3 separate regions of the Homo sapiens genome follow, and all the other regions are linked to region 3. The links are contacts of gene promoters, found by promoter capture Hi-C in human tissues and cell types (Jung and others, 2019). All regions are on one chromosome and are shown on one strand. Each heading gives the region's core, a stretch centred on a gene start or on the middle of the fragment in contact. The rest is flanking DNA. Distances are from core to core; before and after follow the strand shown. Region 1 overlaps UTP4 (UTP4 small subunit processome component). Region 2 has its middle 33 kb from the start of ZFP90. Region 3 holds the start of TANGO6 (transport and golgi organization 6 homolog).

Evidence for each region. Contacts are between HindIII fragments. The study calls those that stand out against the background at their distance.
Region 1: a contact is called between a fragment that was not itself captured here and the fragment with the promoter of TANGO6 in region 3, in 1 of the 25 tissues and cell types used here (IMR-90 fibroblasts).
Region 2: a contact is called between a fragment that was not itself captured here and the fragment with the promoter of TANGO6 in region 3, in 1 of the 25 tissues and cell types used here (pancreas).

The regions. Positions count from the first base shown.
Region 1 is chr16:69,163,428-69,166,203 of GRCh38, forward strand. UTP4 (UTP4 small subunit processome component) reads left to right here. Exons shown (of 17, transcript NM_032830.3): 15 at 1,914-2,099. Among named protein-coding and RNA genes, the nearest start is that of SNTB2, 22 kb to the right of the region's middle. The HindIII fragment of the contact is 4,452 bases long and covers 1-2,776 here.
Region 2 is chr16:68,571,286-68,573,985 of GRCh38, forward strand. It overlaps a transcript of ZFP90 not described here. Among named protein-coding and RNA genes, the nearest start is that of ZFP90, 33 kb to the left of the region's middle. The HindIII fragment of the contact is 5,111 bases long and covers 1-2,700 here.
Region 3 is chr16:68,842,179-68,844,880 of GRCh38, forward strand. It overlaps TANGO6 (transport and golgi organization 6 homolog), which reads left to right and starts at 1,353. Exons shown (of 18, transcript NM_024562.2): 1 at 1,353-1,533. The coding sequence starts at 1,440. RefSeq lists an enhancer at 1,324-1,593. The HindIII fragment of the contact is 20,381 bases long and covers 1-2,702 here.

The DNA.
Region 1 (2,776 bases), core at 42-2,541, 320 kb after region 3:
AGGAATTTTGAAGTACTCATTTTCCTGATTGTTTTAGAGGAGAGATGACATGGGCTTGGGTATTAAACTGGATATGGGATGGAATAAGATTTTGAGAGTTGAAAGTGACTAAAAGATTGTATCATTCACCTTTACGCTTGCCGATGAGGAAATCAAGCCCTAATAAGATCAGGTACCTAATCTCAGCCAAAATTAGAACCTAATCTACTTTTTTCTATACCAATTTGTAAGGAGATTGTGATTATAAGGAGATCTTTAAAAAAAAAAAAACCTGGGCTGCGGAATATATTAGGAAGTTATCAATAATTATATTAGGAAGTTATCAATAATTCATCTGTAAAATTGGAGATGTTAATATCTACCTCACTGAGCTGTTGGGAAGATTAAATGTAATCCAGGAAGCACATTTAAGTAGAGTGCTAGGCAAATGATGCTTACTGCTTTGATGGTCAGTTTGTTTTTTTTTTTTTTTTTTTGAGACAGAGTCTCGCTCTGTCGCCCAGGCTGGAGTGCAGTGGTGCGATCTCCGATCACTGCAAGCTCCGCCTTCCGGGTTCATGTCATCCTCCTGCCTCAGCCTCCCGAGTAGCTGGACTACAGGCGCCCGCCACCATGCCCGGCTAATTTTTTGTATTTTTAGTAGAGATGGAGTTTCACCATGTTAGCCAGGATGGTCTCGATCTCCTGACCTTGTGATCCGCCCGCCTCGGCCTCCCAAAGTGCTGGGATTACAGGCTTGAGCCACCGCGCCCGGCTGATGGTCAGTTTTTACACTCACACATGCACACACACACTGTCCAAAAAGTGAAATCTCTCAGTTTTATAGATTTGAGTCCTTGACCAAAGACTGAAAGAGTAGTGAAGCCACACATCTTTGCCTTTGTCACACATAATGATAATTTCCCCCATGACACCTTTTACTGGCACTTAGTCCCTTAAGTGCTTCTGAAAGTAAAACTGATGGGAAGTTTTTTATATCTGTTAGATTAGCAAAGATCAAAGACTTGATAATATACAGTGTTCTGAAGGTATAGGGAAACAGTACTCTCACACATTGTGTAAATTATCCTAACCCTTTTGGAGGACATGTTGGCAATACCTTAAAAATTTTAAAGTCCACATGGTCTTTGACTTAGAAATTTCAGTTCTAATCATTCTTTATATATATATATATATATATATATATATGTATATATATATCTGTATATAGATATATATGCTTCTAGCTGTGCAAAAAGACATTTATACAGAGACAGCTTTGTTTGTAGTAGACAAAGATATGAAACAAGCTAATGTCCATTAAGCAGAGTGGATAAGTAAATCATGATACATGGACAAAATGAGTGGACTATTCTGTGTTTCAGAATGGGCATGACCGATATATATGTGTATTAATGTGGGTCAGTCTCCGTGATATAACACTGAGCAACAAAAGCAAGATACAGAACGCTATGTATTATGTGCATAAAATAGCTCTGAAAAGATGGGCAGGGCGCGGTGGCTCACGCCTGTAATCCCAGCACTTTGGGAGGCTGAGGCGGGCAGATCACGAGGTCAGGAGATCAAGACCATCCTGGCTAACACAGTGAAACCCCATCTCTACTAAAAATACAAAAAATTAGCCGGGCGTACTCGTGGGCGCCTATAGTCCCAGCTATTTGGGAGGCTGAGGCAGGAGAACGGCTTGAACCGGGGAGGCGGAGCTTGCAGTGAGCGGAGATCACGCCACTACACTCCAGCCTGTGTGGCAGAGTGAGACTCCATCTCAAAAAAAAAAAAAAGTGTTGGGAGAGCATAGAATGAATATAATACAGTTGAAGCTTTGTATAGATACTTTCTGGTTAGGGATGAGAATGCCCTTCTGGTCTTTCTGAGTACCAGCCTGCATTTCTCTATGTCATGTCCTCCCTCAGGTATTTGAGTACAGCATCCCAGACAAACAGTATACAGATTGGAGCCGGACTGTCCAGAAGCAGGGCTTTCACCACCTTTGGCTCCAAAGGGATACTCCTATCACACACATCAGTTTTCATCCCAAGAGACCGATGCACATCCTTCTCCATGATGCCTACATGTTCTGCATCATTGACAAGTCATTGGTGAGTTCTTCACTGCTACCTCCCAAATCTTCTTCTGAATCTTAAAGTTCTAAAAGCAACAAGTACAATAAGGTAAGAGGACAGAGACTCAGAATAAAGGTAGCTAGTAAATCAGAATACAGGTAGCTAGTACATTTCTTGGAGGAGAGGGGCTTTTGTTTTACAGATTCCCTGGTTTGTGTTCCCACAGTTCTTCGGGAGGCTCTCGGGGAAGGGGCTGGCCTTTGTATACTGGCTTTTGCTGATTTGACTATTTGTCTACTTTGCGAGTAAGCACATAAATCTTACACAGAAAAGTGATTAGGCCAGTATTCGGAAGGTGACCCTCATCCGGAAGTATCATTGATTTGGCTAACTTGCTTTCAACTTTGAACTCTGGGGTATCTGAATAACCTGGTTTCATTAAAGGAGGTACAGGCTGAGGTTTTGACCTCTGTGCCCCTTCGCTAAAGCTACTAAAACGCTGTCTGCAGGCTTGAGGAACTGGTCTTAACATCTTCGAAAAACCCAGCTAGGAAAATTCTTCATGGCTGTGATTTACATGGGATACGAGCATTTTCTTCAGTTTTAGATTCTGTCCTCTTTGCCAGCTGCTGTTTTGATTCACCCTGAATTTGTATGGCTTTTCTGGGCAGGTGCTTTGTTTCCTAGGAGCATTGTGGCCATGCCTGTCCTGC
Region 2 (2,700 bases), core at 100-2,599, 270 kb before region 3:
GAAGTCACATGGTGGATTAAAATTTAAAATCGCTATTTTCCAAACTAGTCTTTATTAAACTCATTTGAAAGGCAAAAAATAATAATAGTAAATAATAAAATTTAAAACTTTTGTCCCCACAGTGGTGCATAGGTATTCGTTGTATGTGCCTCTGTGAATGTTTAAACTCATTTACAGTTAAAGTTGGCCTCCTTTTTCTTATCTGATTCCTCCTCCCACACAACCACCTGCTTGGTTTCCCTCAGGGCATAAGCCTGGATAACTTGTACACCAGCACACCTGAAGGATTTGGGGGAAGGAATAATGAGCACTGATGCTCCTCAGAGTGAGAAGCTGATCCAAGCCTAAGAAAGAAGGGAGGGACCCAGCACGGCGGCTCACACCTGTAATCCCAGCACTTTGGGAGGCCAAGGTGGGAGGATCACTTGAGGCCAGGAGTCGAGACCAGCCTAAGCAACATAGTGAGACCTCATCTCAACAAAAATAAATAATTTTTAGGAAATAATAAAAAATTGTTAAAAGAAAAAGTCTTGGCACTGTCAGAATCAGGCAGAGCGTTGCCACTTGCCAGAAATGCCTTTTGAGGCACCAATTAAAAAGGGAGGGCAGAGGAGCAGAGGGCTTCCTGCAGATGAGGAGCATGAGTGACTATTTGCAAGAGTTGGTGGAAGGATATTACTAATTTTTGCTAATAACTTTTAGTAAAACCCTGGTCATTTTGGAAAAACATACTTTTTTAACAAACACTTTTTTTTTGAGGTGGGGTCTCTGATGCAGTGGTGTGATCATAGCTCACTGAAGCCTCAAACTCCTGGGCTCAAGTGATCCTCTGTCCTTAGTCGCCCAAGCAGCTAGGACTACAGGTGCATGCCACCATGACCAGCTGACAAACACTTTTTTTTTTTCCATTTGGAAAGGTAGCAGACACACTAAAAGACAAACACATTTTAATGGATAAAGGAGTCAAGAAATCTGGACCTGAATTATAATGGTATTTTATTGAGCTGTGAACAGGAAGTATTATTGTAGTAATTAATGGGGCTTTTATTTTACTGTCTGCATTAAAAAACTGGCAATTTGCAATTCCAAAGTTAGAGTTCTCACAGGATCTTGACAGGGACTTTTCTGTTGGCTTGGAGTTGCTGATAAAGCTCCTAAGGTGAAAACAAAATGTCACATTCCTCTGCTTTCTAAAGGGTGTCACAGAGACTGGACACATGGTCCCATAGGACTCACTAGATGTGAGAGTCACAGAGCCACTTGATCCTTGGCCCCTATAGATATAAAAACCATGTAAGGAGGTTCTGATCCAGAGGAGATGGGCCTCATGCTCCTGGGATGAAGCCCCTACCCTGCCCCTACAGGGGTGGGGGACTTGGGCACCAAGAATGAGATATTGGGAGATCTGAAAGCATGGGAGCTTGGCATCTCCATCTCCAGCAAAACCACAGGCCCACTTCACAGCTGTCACCTGGAGTTCTTGGGAGAACTTAATGTTTGTTCCTTAAAATGTGTTCCCTGTAGTGTGGAGGTGGAAGGTGGTAAAGGATCGAACAGAGAGGGGTGCCCCCAACTGTCTGGAGATTTCAGAAGGGAGGGGGCTGCTGCTGGATTAGTCCCTAGCAGCAGAGTGGAGATCTCTAAGGGTCTGCATTTGTGTTATCCCTGGGAAGGAAAGGATAGGACCACTCCATCTGTTTTCCTTGACATCAGAGATCACAAGTCAGGATTTCAGTGGTTCCTGGATAGGGTGTCCTTATAATTGATTGTCCAAACAGGGACCCTGAGAATGAAGGGGAAGCTAATCAGATGGGAAGCTCAGATTGTGCTCTAAAACCCAGATGTATGTTCACCCTGTACCTGGAGCTCCTGGGAAGGAGGACAAGTGGGCAGGAGCCATAAGGCTGTGTCAATGGCTGCTCTGCCAAACTCACCTTGAGACTGGTTAGAGGCAAGGATTGCGTGAGGCCCAAGGGAAACTAGGCTGCCCTGCTGTGAATCGACACAGAGAGCTGGGATGAAGCTGGACCCAGGGGTGCCATCAGGGCAGGCCACAGGCTTCATCGCCAGGTGCAGTGGCACACTTAAAATCCCAGAACTTCAGGAGGCTTGAGGCCAGCAGGTCCAGGCTACAGTGAGCCATGATTATGCCATTGCACCCCAGCCTGGGTGACACAGCAAGACCTGTCTCTAAAAGCAAAACAAAACTCTATATATATATGGTCAGACTAAGTTTCAATAACTGAAAGTAAGCAGAAAATTGTATTTGCTCAGGTTAAGGGATCCTAACATGGGATTTGACAGTGTTGGGGAGTGGGAAGGCATTTTAAGGGTAACATCACACAGGTTAGAAAAGTTTACACCACCAGTTTACAATTAATAATAGGAAGATCTGGGTGTGCCTTTTAAAGAGGTGTCCAAAGGAAGCCCACTGGCATCATCATACATTTTATGAGCTGAGGTTGAGATGTGTAGTTCCGCCAGGTGTGTTGCACACACATGTCAAGAGAGCACCTCCTGAACGCAGGGACATGTGGCACAGCTAGGGACTACGTTCCCCGAAAGCCTTAGCAGCAGCTCACTTCCACTTCTGGGCTGAACGTCTTCCCTCGCAGTCGCTTTTGGTCTGCTCGGCCATGTGCAGTGCTGAGTTTTCGCTTCCTTCTGAGTGGCACAGCGTGGGTACAAGCTTGGCTGCGT
Region 3 (2,702 bases), core at 103-2,602:
TTCCAAAATGACAAAGAAAAGAAGAAACAAGAGTCATGCCAAAAAGGGTAATAGCTATGCGCAGCTTATTCTCGCCCAAGGACCGGACCATTAAGAAGTTTGTCCTTTGGGCCGGGCGCAGTGGCTCACGCCTGTAATCCCAGCACTTTGGGAGGCCCAGGTGGGCAGGTCACTTGAGGTGAGGAGCTCAAGACCAGCCTAGCCAAGAGGGCGAAACCTTGTCTCCACAAAAAATACAAAAATTAGCCGGGCATGCTGGGGCACTCCAGTAATCCCAGCTACTCGGGGGGCTGAGGCCAGATAATTGTTTCAGCCTGGGAGGCAGAGGTTGCAGTGAGCCGAGATCACGCCACTGAACTCCAGCCTAGGCGACAGAGCGAGACCCCATCTCAAAAAATAAAATAAAAATAAAGGTCCTGCCCTCAAAAACATTGTCCTGTGTCTGCGGCATGACTTTCAGACAACATGGTTTTTCAACGTCCCACCAGGATTTATGTAGGTGAAAACCTGTTTCCGATAATCTGAATCTCAAATCCATTCTGTTTTACATATAAAAACAGTTTGGCGGAGGGCATGGTTTTGATAGACCCTGAATTTTCGAGGAATGCATCAACCATGAAAACAGAACACAGATCGAACTTTTACTGGGAACTTTACTAAGTTCACTGAAAAAAAAAATCATATTACCCATAACAACATTTGTAGCTTTACATTCACGATGGATATATATGCGTGTGTACGTCTGTACTTAGGTTTTGTTTGTTTGTTTGTTTTGAGATGGAGTCTCGCTCTGTCGCCCAGGCTGGAGTGCAGTGGTGTGATCTCGGCTCACTGCAACCTCGACCTCCCAGCTTCGAGCGATTCTCCTGCCTCAGCCTCCCGGGTAGCTGGGACTACAGGCGCCCGCCACCACGCCTGGCTAATTTTTGTATGTTTAGTAGAGACGGGGTTTCACCATATCGGACAGGTTGGTCTCAAACTCCTGACCTTGTGATCTGCCCGCCTCGGCCTCCCAGAGTGCTGCGATTACAGGTGTGAGCCACCGCGCCCAGCCTGAATATTGTTTTTCTTATCCATACTTCACTGTAAGCAGATGGAAGCATCTGTCTGCTTCATTATGTCTGCCAGTGTTGAGTACCTGAGTATTTTCATATTGAAATATAGCTTTAATGATACATTACTTCTCTCTTCCTTCTTTACATAGCGGTTAATCATATTGAGCTTCTGAAATTGTGCGCGTGGGCAGATTAGCCATTTTTGGGTTCCCTCTTACCCCCCGGACTAAGCCGGGACGGAAAAAAAATGTGAAGGGGGCGTTCCCGATCGATTTGGCCCCGCCCCATAGTGTGCCCAGAGCCTTCTGCCACACTTAACATGGCGGCGGCGGCGCCCTGCCGAGGCGCCTGAGCGGGTCGCGAGCGTGGTGTTACACTCCAGTCATGGCGGCCCGACAGGCCGTGGGCAGCGGGGCTCAGGAGACATGCGGTCTGGATCGGATTTTGGAGGCATTGAAGCTGCTGCTGAGCCCGGGAGGTGAGAGGACGCATCTCCGCGCCGGGCTGGACCCGGGACTCTCAGGGCCGCCCGGCTTCCGGGGCTGCCCTGCCTTCCGCAGCGTGCGCCCCTTAGGCCCGCCTCGGGACCCTCCGCCCGCTGCTGGGGGCTTTGAGCATTGTCTATGCCCGTCCTCATTACGTTCTTGAGGAAACTGAGGCTCAAGGAGGGCGCGGGATCCGTTGACTGCTGATATTAGCCAACATCTCTTGAGCATTTGCCTTGTGCTGGGCTCTGTCAGGCGGGGCCGTTATTTCATTCAGTGCTTACTGCAGCGCTCTTGGGAGGGGGATATGGACCCAGCTCCAGAGAGGGTAGGGCGCCCGCGACGTAGAAATGTGAGGTCCTAGCCGCGTGAGGGCGCAGGGGCCAGCATGGACCCTTGAGATTTGTACGAAATGCCAAGAAGTCCAGACATCGGAAGCAGTGACGTTTGAAATGGGTTTGGGGAGAGTATTTAGGGGTTACCAGGCGCTTTTAATCTTTGTGGTGCGTGGACAGTTTCTTCCCAGTCTAAAATCTGAAGGGATATTGGGAGTGGTTGAAGCTGCTACTCCTTTTGCGACTGAGGACACCCAAGGCTCACTGAAGAAATTAAGTAACCTGTCCAAGATCACGTGGTCAAATTAGGGGCAGAACACGGACCTAGGCCCGAGATCTACTGAACCCCCTTCTCAGAATCAGACAAATTGTTCAGTATAGGGGCTCTGATGTTATCTGGAGCTTTTGGAAAGGACGTGGAAGATAGAGCTCTGCTTATCACTGGGGTGTATATTTGGGGGAAGGGATGGGAAGGGATCTGTAGAATTAGCAAGGGCACATGAAAGGCCAAAGGGGATCACCTCCCAGTCTCAGATTTTATACTTAAAACTGCAAAAACTTCTGCAAACATTACACCACACCAGCGGGAAGTGAACACAAGTTACTAATATTAGTAAATGAGTGCCTACTAAGTATCAGTCCCCATAGTAGGCTGTTGACATACACATCATTTAATCCTCATTACGATCCCCTGGGATCGGTACTACTTGTATTCAATTTTTACGGATGAAGGACCAAGGTTCAGGTACATTGGAAATTGCCCAATGTCAGACTAGTAAGTGGCAGAATTTGAATTTAGGTTATTTCCACTAAAAGTATGGTAAATA